Regions from separate parts of the Homo sapiens genome. Here region 2 is linked to region 1. Evidence: promoter capture Hi-C in 16 types of primary human blood cells and fetal thymus (Javierre and others, 2016). All regions are on one chromosome and are shown on one strand. The core of a region is centred on a gene start or on the middle of the fragment in contact, and the rest is flanking DNA. Distances in the headings are between cores, read along the strand shown.

The links. The method cuts DNA at HindIII sites, captures the fragments that hold promoters and counts their contacts. A CHiCAGO score of 5 or more calls a contact.
Region 2: a contact is called between a fragment that was not itself captured here and the fragment with the promoter of ACTL10 in region 1, in 5 of 17 cell types (neutrophils, naive B cells, total B cells and 2 more). The highest score is 6.4, in neutrophils.

Annotation. Positions count from the first base shown.
Region 1 is chr20:33,664,745-33,671,053 of GRCh38, reverse strand. It overlaps ACTL10 (actin like 10), which reads right to left and starts at 4,111. Exons shown (of 1, transcript NM_001024675.2): 1 at 2,529-4,111. The coding sequence starts at 3,556. The coding sequence ends at 2,819. It overlaps NECAB3 (N-terminal EF-hand calcium binding protein 3), which reads left to right. Exons shown (of 12, transcript NM_031232.4): 3 at 262-370; 4 at 1,342-1,367; 5 at 1,582-1,679. RefSeq lists enhancers at 3,309-3,388, 4,199-4,418, 6,269-6,309 and a silencer at 3,739-4,068. The HindIII fragment of the contact is 8,805 bases long and covers 1-4,841 here.
Region 2 is chr20:33,493,984-33,500,292 of GRCh38, reverse strand. The region is part of intron 1 of CBFA2T2 (CBFA2/RUNX1 partner transcriptional co-repressor 2); the gene reads right to left. Among named protein-coding and RNA genes, the nearest start is that of CBFA2T2, 7.0 kb to the right of the region's middle. The HindIII fragment of the contact is 160 bases long and covers 3,862-4,021 here.

The DNA.
Region 1 (6,309 bases), core at 2,862-5,361:
TCCTACCCAACGCTATGTACATACTGCCCTGTCCCTTTGGTGCCTGCAAAGTAGGTTCTGTTGCCTTCACTGGACACCTTCAAGGACCCCAGTCCTTTTGTCCCCAACAGTCAGGCCCCCCACTGACCTCAGACTCCCATCTCACCTAGCTAGATGGTTGTCAGATGCTATGAGGCCTTTGGGACCCTGGACCTGGTGGCAGGGGTGCAGTCAGGGTCAGGGATACCTCCTCTGCTCCCTGTCCTCCCCCTGCCACCCCAGATGATGGGAAGCTCTCATTTGAGGAATTCCAGAATTACTTTGCCGATGGGGTTCTCAGCCTGGGGGAGCTGCAGGAACTGTTCAGCGGCATTGATGGGCATCTCACCGAGTGAGTATGAGAGGGGGCCGTGGGTAGATGCGAGGCCAGGTTGTCTTTACCCCACTGTGTCCCCTGCTGCCTTGGTTCCTTTTGTAGGATGAGGAAGAGGGGGCAGGGAGAAAGGTACCAGGGCTCAGTTCCAACTTTACCCGCCTGCCTACCCCCTCTCCAGCTACAGCCTTGCCCACTACACTGCTTCCAGCTGGGACCCCAAAATAGCCAAGTCTGAGTCACCACCCATGGCTCAGCTCCCCATTCCCGCTTCCCACAGGGACCAGAGGATGCCTGGGGACAGCTGGGCCCCGCCTGCTTCCACCCGAGAATGCAGTGCATAAACACGCAACCATCTACCCCTTGTGTGCTCCCACATCTACGCGTCTTGGCAGGAGTGTGCACGCTCCTTCCCGTGCCTGCTCCCAGGGGTGCACACGCATGAACCGCTGTTACTCCCTCTACTTCCCTTCTCCCCTTTCCTGAGGGTCAGTCTCAGGCTCCTGAGACTTGGGCTGGAACCTTCATCTGCAGTGCTTCCCCTCCCCTCCTGGCCAGACTCCCCACCCAGTTCCTTGTCCTTCAGGGCCTCACTTAGGCAGCTCTTCCTCTAGGAAACCCTCCCTAACCTACAACTAAATACCCCATGCCGTCCCTGGACTTCATTGCCTTGCACCTGGCTTCCCCTTCGCAGCTCTGACCACTTCTCACTGGCCTGTGTCCACATCCATCTTCCCCTGGCCTGAGATCCTCTTGGTAGCCAAGAATGGGTCTGAATCTTTGCCCTTAGAGTGATTGGTGGGGGCAGTAGAACCCATTCTCCAACCCTGCAAGGACTCTGTCCACAGGAGCAACTTAATCTGGGGTGGAGCAGAAGTGGCCTTGTTAGGCTAAGCTGGGAGTTGGTGGGGTGGGATGTGGGGCATTGGCCCCATTAGTCCCAGTTTACCAGGCCCAGGTCTGAAGGGCGCCTTCTCTTTTCCCTGCAGCAATTTAGAAACAGAAAAACTGTGTGGTGAGTAGGCCCATGGGAGCTCTTTTCTCCTGTGGCCCCTGGGCCCCAGGGTACGTGTGGCAAGGGACTGTTGCTGGTCTCCTGATGGGACAGGTTGGGCTGGGCTCAGGATATAAGGCCTGCTTGGCTGCTGAGGAATTCCAGGGGGCCAGAATCCCAGGGTGGGTAGATGGGTGGGGGTCCAGGAACCCTTGAGCACCTCTTCTGCCTGCAGACTACTTCTCAGAGCACCTGGGTGTCTACCGGCCGGTGCTGGCTGCATTGGAATCGCTGAACCGTGCAGTGCTCGCTGCCATGGATGCCACCAAGCTGGTGAGTGGAGTGGCTGATGGTGGGGGATCCACTGTGAGGCAGTGGGCATCTGCTGTGCTGTGGGATCCTCCACAGTCTTGACTCAGGGTTATAGAGCTAGGGGCTTGGGTTCAAATCCTGGCTCCCACTTTGTAGCTGTGCCCCTTGACCTCTCTGGGCCTGTTTCCTCATCTGTAAACCATCATAACAATAGAGCTGCCCTTCATACATCACTGTGACCAGTGAGAACGAAGGCAGGGATTTTTGTCTGTTTTATTCTGTTTCCAGCACCCAGAATAATGTCTGGCATACACTGGGTGCTTCATACTAGGGGCTGCTGTTGCTTTAGTTGCTGGCCCATCACAACTGTGGTGGGATATCATTCAGGGCTGGGCTAGGCGTGGAAGGCTGTGCTCACAGGTTCACAGGGCAGGGCCTGGCCCGAGGACATACGTGAGTAGGCAGGTACGTGAACACCCACGCGTTTGTGTGGACACGTGTATACACAAGCTCGAACAGTGCTGATAGCCAGGGCTTGAGGCCCTTGAGTGGTGACTTCCAAAAAATAAGCTGCCCTTCCCTTTGTGTGTTCAAGAAATATCTCCACCTCCCTTTGCTCCATAGCTCTTGTAAGGGGGAGGGAGCAGTGAGCAGGCCCGGGATTGTGCCTGACCCCACTTTTTACAGAAGGGGAAACTGAGGCACTCATAGTCAACAATGACCTGAGCACATGGCTAGGCACAGGGCTCCTCCTCCTGGTGACTTTCACATGAGATTTAGTAGCTTTTCAAGGGATCGCCCCTTGGGGCCTGGCATCGGATGTATGTCCAAATGGTACATGACGAGGGTTTGGAGGAACTCCCATATCTGTGGCATGGACACAAGTGGGGCATCACCTTTATTGCCATAAAGTAGGGCCCTGTGGGTAGGCAGCTGGACTGGCATTCTCTGAACTGGCAGTGGTTGGGGAGATTCAAACTGCAGTTCAAAATGAGGGTCCCATGGGTCCCAAATACCTTCTCCTGGCCCAGAAAGGGTATGGGGGTGACCCATCCAGTCAGCTCCAACCTCCAGGAGGACCCTGCCAGCTCCAAACACTTGACTCTTTAGATAGAGAGCTGTCCCCCAACGCAGTGCCACCCCCCCCAGTCCAGCCTGACTCAGTTGAACACATCGTACAGCAGCCTGGAGCCACACTCCTGGTACATGGCCCGAGTTATCCAGCGGCGCTGGAAGGAGTGCAGGGAGGCCACCATGGAGCCGCCGGTCCACACAGCCATGCCACGCCCATGCTTGGCCACCAGGTGGGGCCGCAGGGCCGCGTAGCCGTGCCGCCGGCACTGCGCCTCCAGCTCCTTGTCCAGGCGCTCGGCGAAGCCAGGAAACAGTGTGGAGCCGCCGGCTAGCACCACGGTGTCTGCCAGGCGTGTCCGCAGCGTTTTGGGCATCTTCTGCAGCGCCCGGAAGGCCAGCGCGGGCAGCCCCTGCTCAGCCTGGCCCAGCAGGCCCGGCTGGAAGATGGGTTCGGGGCAGCGGAAGCGCTCACTGCTGAGGCAGACGCAGCACCCGTTACCCACGCTGAAACTGGCCGGATGGTGGCGGGCGGGGTCGCGGAGGTCGCCCTCGAAGTCCAGGGACACGTAGCAGCTGCGCTTCTTGAGATGTGTGATGGCCTTGCGGGGCAGGGCCTGCTGCAAGAGGTCAGGGTTCGCCGCCACCAGCAGATCCCGCAGGTAGCGCGACAGGGTGCTGCCTGCCACGTTCAGTCGGAAGGTGGCCTGGTGCCACGAGTGACCCGCGTAGATGGGCGTGGCGTGGCACACGCCCGCGCCCGCCTCCACGGCCAGCCCGCTGAACGCGCCGGTGGAGCAGAGCGCCAGCAACGCGGTGCTAGCCATGTGGCACGCGGGCACTGCCAGGGTCTCGAACAGCAGCTCCGCCACCCTTTCGCGGCCCGCGGGCGGCGCCAACGGCGAGTCGCTCACCAGCACGGGCCACTGCTCTGGGCACACCCGCAGGCCGCCCACCAGCAGGCGCTCCCACAGCCCTTCCAGCGCCTCCCAGTCCGCCACCACGCCGTGCTTGATGGGGTGCGCCCGCGCCACGCCGCCCGCCAGCTCGCAGCCCGGCGCTCCGGGCAGCACCGGCCGGTCCCAGCTGGGCACCAAGCTAGAGCTCTTCAGCACTATGCGCGGCTGGTTCTCGCCCGCGAAGCCCGCCTTGGTGAAGCCCGAGCCCTGGTCCACCACCACCGCGATGCGGCCCAGGGAGGACGGCCGGTGCACGCGGCGGCTCCCCGACACCGACGCCACCTTCGGGCTCGGCCCAGCCGCGGGGCTGAAGGCTCCGCTCCTCCGCGCCACTCGGCTTCGTCGGCCCGATACCTCCCGGCCTCTGTCCTAGGGAGTAGTCCCCTTCAGCCTTTGGCTCTGCCTCCGGAGCCTAAGTTCTTCCTCTTCTGGACCAAATCACCACCCTTTTCAGCTCTTGGCTCCGCCCTCTGGTCTGAAAGCCCCGCCTCTTCTGTCCGGGCCATCCGCCTCCTTTTCAGCTCGTGGCTAGTTCCTAGGCCTGAGGCCCGGCCCCTAGTTCAGGCTTCAGTCTCCGCTCTGGCTGGGTTCCAGCCGCATCTCACCCTCTTGGTCTCCCTCTGGCGCCGGGCTTCAGGCTCCACGCTCTCAGGACCCGCCTCTGCTTTGCTGTTCCGCCCCGTCAGCCCTTGCTGAGATGGCTGACGAGATGGCTAGGACTGATCCTTTTAGATCCTAAGAAGCCCCCGGGAGGAGCAGAACTTTGAGGGCGAAGGGGCCTTGTGGTAAGGCCATTTGGACATATATCCCCCTTGAGGACCCAGGCAGCCTCCTGGCACCTCTCACCTGGGCTTGACGGAAGTTCCTGGTTGTGGAGAGGGGAGGGGCTGGTCAGAAGGCAGAAAAGAACTTGGATTGGGCTCATTGTGACCTCACTCCCCAGCAGCTGCACTTCGCAGCTCCCTACCTTATGACAACTCCCTGGACCCATCCTCTCTTCTGGACAGAGCCAAGGGCAGTGATTTTGGCATCCAGGGGTCTGGCTTCAGCAGCCCAGCACAGTCTGATTCCTTTCCCAAACCACTTAGAATTATCTGATGTACTCTGTCCAGATGTGTGGCCCCCTACCCCTCCCAGTGCTGAAGAAAAAGCTTTTTCATCACAGATCTGCAGCTTCCCTGAAGAGCCCCCGAGAGGCTCTGGCCCTACCTTTATGGGCTTCCACGGATGGATTCACGTGGGCCTCAGTTTGAGACTCAGTTCTTTTTTTTATTATTATTATTTTTGAGACGGAGTCTCGGTCACCCAGGCTGGGCGTGCAGCGTTGCAATCTCAGCTCAGTGCAACCTCTGCCTTCCGAGTTCAAGTGATTCTCCTGCCTCAGCCTCCTGAGTAGCTGGGACTACAGGCATGCACCACCATACGCGGCTAATTTTTGTATTTTTAGTGGAGACAGGGTTTCGCCACGTTGGCCAGGCTGGTCTCGAACTCCTGACCTCAGGTGATCCACCTGCCTTGGACTCCCAAAGTGCTAGGATTACAGGTGTGAGCCACCGCACCCAGCAAGACTCAGTTCTGAAGCTGACTCACTGTGCAGTCCTAAGCAAGTCTTGATCTTTCTCTGGGTTCGGTTTTCTCCTCCAAAAGGTAGTAATAATCCCCCCACACAGGAAAGAGGTCACTTCTTGTCTCTGCAAAGCCTCATCCTCCTGAGGACCAGTTTGGTTGCAGGTAGAAGACTCAGGTGAATGTAACCCAAAATAAGGACTTTATTGAAAGGATCTTACATGTTATGGATATCAAGAGCAAGGGTGAAATCAGGTTTCAGGAACAGAATCTGACTGCGGGGCTGTGGGGAACCCAGGATGTGCACTGCATTGTGTTGTTTGTTTTTTGAGATGGAGTCTCGCTCTCTTGCCCAGGCTGGAGTGCAGTGGTGTGATCTCAGCTCACTGCAACCTCTGCCTCCTGGGTTCAATTCCCCTGCCTTAGTCTCCCGAGTAGCTGGGACTACAGGCGCCCGCCATGATGCCTGGCTAGTTTTTTGTATTTTTAGTAGAGACGGGGTTTCACCGTGTTAGCCAGGATGGTCTCGATCTCCTGACCTCGTGATCTGCCTGCCTCAGCCTCCCAAAGTGCTGGGTTTACAGGCGTGATCCACTGCGCTTGGCCTGCATTGTGTTTTTATTCTGAAGGCTGGCTTAGCCTGTGCATGTTCAAGTAGAGAACATGGTCTCTTACAGCTCCTGAATCACAGTCCTAGGGGGAGGGGCTGACAGGACCAGCTTGGGCCAATCACTGTATGGGCAGGAGGTGCAGCCCCATGGAAGAACATGGTTACCCTGATTGTAACCATGTGGATGGTAGGGAAGAGTCAGTTCTCACAATTAGCAGGAGTGATGTTATAGCTCTTGCAGCCTCCAGCCTGGTGCAGGCAAGGTGGAGGAGATGTTCATCCTGGTGGCGGTGACAAAAGTGCATCTTCAGCAGAAGCTGGGCTGATGGCTGTAGTGAGCTGGGACTTCAGTCCTGCTGCATCTGCCCCCAAAAGAGGGCATCCTGAGGTTGGTCACCAGAGTGTGGCAGGAAGGCGGGCTGCAGGTTTGGCAGGCCAGGGGTGG
Region 2 (6,309 bases), core at 2,692-5,191, 170 kb after region 1:
AAGCCATGCGATAGAGGGTTAAAAAAAAGTGGGTTTTTGGCTGGGCGCAGTGGCTCACGTCTATAATCCCACCACTTTGGGAGGCAGAGGCGGGCAGATCACAAGTCAGGAGTTCAAGACCAGCCTGGCCAAGATGGTGAAACCCCGTCTTTACTAAAAATACAAAAATTAGCCGGGTGTGGTGACGGGCGCCTGTAGTCCCAGTTGCTCAGGAGGCTGAGGCACAGAACTGCTTGAACCTCGGTGGTGGAGGTTGCAGTGAGCCAAGATCACACCACTGCACTCAGCCTGAGCGACAGAGACTGTCTTTAAAAAAAATAAAAAATAAAAAATAAATGGGTGTTTGGACACTCAATGCATAATGAATGAACTTGACACCAAGATTAAACTAGTTAGGAAGAGTGAATCTACTACTTATTAACTGTGTGACCTTGGACAATTAAATTCTCTAACTCATTTCTTTTTTTCTTTTTTCTGAGATGGAGTCTCACTCTGTCGCCCAGGATTTCCTTATCAGTAAAACAGAGATACTCTCTCCCAAGTTTGATCTATAATTAAATGAGATGATTGATGTACATAAAAAATGCCCAGCAGAAAATCTAGCCAAGACTTTTTCTTAAAAGAATTCAACTAGACTTAAAGTCATACTCGGCTGACGTATCTGCTTATTGACTCATTTCAAAAGTTCAAGTTATGGTACCCCAACTCCTAAAATTTCAGATAGCCTCAAGGGGCCAGAGACAGAAACCAGAGACAGAGGCAAAAAGCTACTTAACCAGCCTTAATAAAATCCAGAAACAAGGTCTGTCACATGTACAAACACTAGCTCATGTCGCACATGTAAACTATTACTACAGCATTATGAGATCCCTTCCTTGGTAATCTTACTAAAGCCTAAACAATAACCAGAGTGATTCTTCTTCATTAGCCTCCAAGCTTTCAGGGATTTGAAGTAAATCTTTACAAAAGAATGGTCACTTTCTATGAGATTCAAAACAATACTCTAAGGAATGAGAACAAAATTGGCAGGTGAGAAATCTTACTTCCCCACCTCTTCCTCCTATTTTCATTACCCTGAACTTAGTGAATTAACTCATTTTGATCCCAGGGCTGCAATCATTCATTAAGCACTATCATTTAAACCATTCTTCCTGCCTAAAACTCTGGATTCACATAACCTATACAACATTTAACACTTGAGAACAAGCTTAAACTCAATCTCTCTGCTTATTTTTTTTTTTTTTCTTTTTAGACGGAGTTTCACTCTTTCGCCCAGGCTGGAATGAAGCAGCGTGATCTCAGCTCACTGCAACCTTCCGCCCCCTGGGTTCAAGCAATTCTCCTGCCTCAGCCTCCTGAGTAGCTGAGATGATAGGCACCCACCACCATACCTGGCTAATTTTTGTATTTTTAGAAGAGACGGGGTTTTGCCATGTTGGCCAGGCTGGTCTCGAACTCCTGACCTCAGGTGATCCGCCCGCCTCGGCCTCCCAAAGTGCTGGGGTTACAGGTATGAGCCACTGTGCCTGGCCATTATTATTTTTTATTATTTTGAGACAGGGTCTCTCTGTCACCCAGGCTGGAGTGCAGTGGCACTATCACTGCAGCTTCCAACACCTGGGCTCAAGCGATCCTCCTACCTCAGCCTTCCGAGTAACTGGGACTACAGCTGAGTGGCACCACCATCACGCCCAACCTCTCTGCTGATTTTTTGATTCTGTATATAAGAAAACTAGGTCAGGTTGGGCGCGGTAGCTCACGCCTATAATCCCAGCACTTTGGGAGGCCGAGGTGGGCAGATGACCTGAGGTCAGGAGTTCGAGACCAGCCTGGCCAACATGATGAAACCCCCATCTCCACTAAAAATACAAAAATTAGCCAGGTGTGGTGGCGCATGCCTGTAAACCCAGCGACTTGGGAAGCTGAGGCAGGACAATGGCTTGACCCTGGGAGGCGGAGGTTGCAGTGAGCAACTGCACTCCAGTGCCACTGCACTCCAGCCTGGGCAACAAAAGGGAAACTCCATCTCAAAAAAAAAAAAAAAAGAAAGAAAATTAACTGGGCCAGGCACAGTGGTTCATGCCTGTTAATGCCAGCACGTTGGGAGGCCAAGGCAGGTGGATCACTTGAGCCTAGGAGTTCTAGACCAGCCTGGGCAACATGAAGAAACCCTGTCTCTACCAAAAATACAAAAGTTGGTCTCATAACCTGGTTTCAAAATTAACAAACAAAAATTTTAAAAATACAGTAAGATAAAAAGAAAACTAACTGGTTCCAAACTAGGATAAACTTACTCAAAAGTCAAAGAAGGGCTGGACTCAATGGCTCACATCTGCAATCCTAGCATTTTGGGAGTCCAAGGCAGGAGAATCATTGGAACCCAGTAATTAGAGACCAGCATGGGAAACATAGAAACATCCTGTCTCTATAAAAAAAATAAAAATAAGCTGGGTGTGGTGGCTCACGCCTGTAATCCCAGCACTTTGGGAGGCCAAGGCGGGCAGATCACGAGGTCAAGTGATCGAGACTAGCCTGGCCAACATGGTGAAACCCCATCTCTACTAAAAATACAAAAATTAGCTGGGCGTGGTGGCGTGTGCCTGTAGTCCCTGCTACTCGGGAGGCGGAGGCAGGAGAATCGCTGGAACCCGGGAGGCAGAGATTGTAGTGAGCCCAGATCACACTACCGCACTGTAGCCTAGCGACAGAGTGAGACCCCTTCTCAAAAAAAAAAAAAAAAAAAAAGTATACAAGCTTCAAACACAGTCATGGTCCCAGCAGGAAACATGGCATACTCCAGTAAGGTTAATTCAAGGAGGGTTTAATAATGGAACTAGAAAGAAATATGTGAGCAGGGTACAAGATAGGCACAAGGGATAGCTGTAATACCCTGGGACTAATGAGAGCATCTCTAGATCTCTAGGCCCAACAACCAAAGGGAACAAAAACTTTCCAAACCTACATGGAGGATGTCACACAGAAAGGACCACATTCTTTTTTTTTTTTTTTTTTTTTTTTGGAGACAGGGTTTCGCTCTTGTCACCCAGGCTGGAGTGCAATGGCGTGATCTCTGCTCACCATAACCTCCGCCTCCCGGGTTCAAGCAATTCTCCTGCCTCAGCCTCCTGAGTAGCTGGAACTACAGGCATGCACCACCATGCCCAGCTAATTTTGTATTTTTAGTAGAGACATGGTTTCTCCATTTTGGTCAGGCTGGTCTCAAACTCCCGACCTCAGGTGATCTGCCGGCCTCAGCCTCCCAAAGTACTGGGATTACAGGCATGAGCCACCGCACCCGGCCGAGAGGACCACATTTAGAGAAGCAGTGACCTTCAGTCAAGGGACAGAGTCAGCTAAGGGCACAACCCATGAGACGGGAGTAGGAAAATAAATTTCATAACCTCAAAGGGGAAGGAAGCTCATTGATGTAGTCCATATAGGTAAGTCAGCTTCCCAGGGCACAGGATAGGGTGAAAAAGGATGGAAAGCAGACCTAGAAGAGCAAACAAAAGGTACCTATTCAACGTCAGACAAGCCTTTCTGATGCACTTTCCGATCTCTTCTGTAATCCCAATGGATAAGTGCCAGATAAGGAAAGGGATACTGAAGATGATCATTCTTACCCCTTTTAAATAGTAATGCACAGGTCCTATCTACTACAAAACATTTGTAACCAAGTTTTTCACTAGTAAATATGGTCATTTACCATTCCACTTTTAACTGTTTAGACTTCCTTGAAGGTCCAATGATTATATACCTTTCTCGACACTAATGAACTTCCTACTTACCTTGCTAGGCAAAATAAAATTACAAAAATGCAAACATTGTCAAAACCCTCAAGGAGTTTATAATTTAGAAGCTTATATTCTTAGATAACTAAGAAGGCAGAATGAGGTATGTGCCAGAGAGAGAAGGAAAGGGCTGTGGTGGTGTGAAAAGTTCTGTAACAGGCTTCTTTGCCATCTGGCCCCTGCCAGGAACAACTCCAGCCAGAATTCACTATTAACAAGGTATATAAGCTTCAATCAGGTTCCCTGTAGGTCCAGATCTGATAAACTACTCACCAAGCCCTCAACTACCTTCAGCCAGTAGACTTCACCCTTCCTTCTCCTGGGAAAAGCCTCCCTTCTCCTTTAAAGCCTGGTTTAATGTCACCCCTTTAGCTGGACCTTACCTGGAATCTCAAGGAATAATTAGTTATGTCTCCCCTGCCTTCCCAAAAGCCTTACGCTTAAAGCACTTAAAACACTTTATCATTACCTGTTGACTTGTGCACGGCCCCTCCTAGACTGAGACCCTAAGTCAGATGGTATACCCTCAGCCACTAACAACCACCAGAACAGAATGTGTCAAGCACGGTTTTAAGTACTTTACATATATTAACATATATTAACCATCATAATAAACCTGCAAATGGGGTAGAAATTTTATCTCCATTTTTCAGATGAGGAAAATGAACTGCACAAGAAGGTTAAGTAATGAGCCTGAAGTCTCAAAACTTGTTAGGATTGGTTCCCAGGATTTTAACCTCAGCACAACTCCAGAATTAAATTTCAAAACTTTAGAATTTAAATCTTAACCATTACATTTTTTTCTTTTTTTGAGACAGAGTCTTGCTGTGTTGCCCAGGCTGGAGTGCAGTGGCACGATCTCAGCACACTGCAACCTCCGCAGTTTCTTTCAAGCAATTCTCCTGCCTCAGCCTCCCAAGTAGCTGGGACTACAGGAACCCGCCACCACGCCCAGCTGATTTTTTTTGTACGTTTTTTGGTAGGGACGGGGTTTCACAATGTTGGCCAGGCTGGTCTTGAACTCCTGACCTCGTGATCCGCCCACCTCAGCCTCCCAAAGTGCTGGGATTACAGGGATGAGCCATCGTGCCCGGCCTTTTTTTTTTTTTTTTTTTGAGATAGAGTTTCCCTCTTGTTGCCCAGGCTGGAGTGCAATGGTGGGATCTCAGCTCACGGCCACCTCTGCCTCCTGGCTTCAAGCAATTCTCCTGCCTCAGCTGGTACTACAGGCCCCCGCTACCACAGCCAGCTTCTTTTTGTATTTTTAGTAGAGATGGGGTTTCACCATGTTGGCCATGCTGGTCTCAAAACTCCTGACCTCAGATGATCCGCCCACCTCGACCTTCCAAATGGTGGGATTACAGGCGCGAGCCACCATACCCAGCCATTACATTTTACTTCTACCGAATAAACTAGATTTCATCAGAGCAATAGACCTAATGGATTGAGAAGGTACTACTACAAGATCAATGATCTCCACCCCAGGAGGTATTGTTAAAATTCACCACTGGGTGTAGAAAGACAACGTTGGAACTGCTACTTCCATTTATTTTACCTTATCCTTCTGTAAAATGTCTATTTTTGTATGTTATAAAACATACCTAGGACAGGCGTGGTGGCTCATGCCTGTAATCCCAACACTTTGGGAGGCTGAGACGGGCGGATCACCTGAGGTCAGGAGTTTGAGACCAGCCTGACCAACATGGTGAAACCCCATCTCCACTAAAAATACAAAATTAGCTGGGTGTGGTGGTGCATGCCTGTAATCCCAGCTATTTGGAAGGCTGAGGCAGGAGAATCGCTTGAACCTGGGAGGCGGAGGTTGTGGTGAGCCAAGATCGCCATTGCACTCCAGCCTGGGCAACAAGAGCAAAACTCCATCTCAAAACAAAATAAAACAAAACAATACACCTAATACAGTGGCCGGGCGCGGTGGCTCATGCCTGTAATCCCAGCACTTTGGGAGGCCGAGGCGGGCGGATCACGAGGTCAGCAGATCGAGACCATCCTGGCTAACAGGGTGAAACCCCGCCTCTACCAAAAATACAAAAAATTAGCCAGGCGTGGCGGCGGGCACCTGTAGTCCCAGCTACTCGGGAGGCTGAGGCAGGAGAATGGCGTGAACCCAGGAGGTGGAGCTTGCAGTGAGCTGAGATCGTGCCACTGCACTCCAGCCTGGGCAACAGAGCGAGACTCTGTCTCAAAAAAAAAAAAAAAAAAAAAAAAAATATATATATATATATATATATATATATATACACATATATATGCCTAATACATAGTACAGTCACACTATAATCGCCATTTAAAACAAACATTCAGGCCAGGCGCGGTAGCTCACGCCTGTAATCCTAACATTTTGGGATGCCAAGGCGGGTGGATCACTTTAGGTCAGGAGTTTGAGACCAGCCTGACCAACATGGTGAAACCCTATCACTGCTGAAAACACAAAATTACCAGGGGTGGTGCCATACACCTGAAATCCCAGTACTTGGGAGGCTGAGGCAGGACAATCACT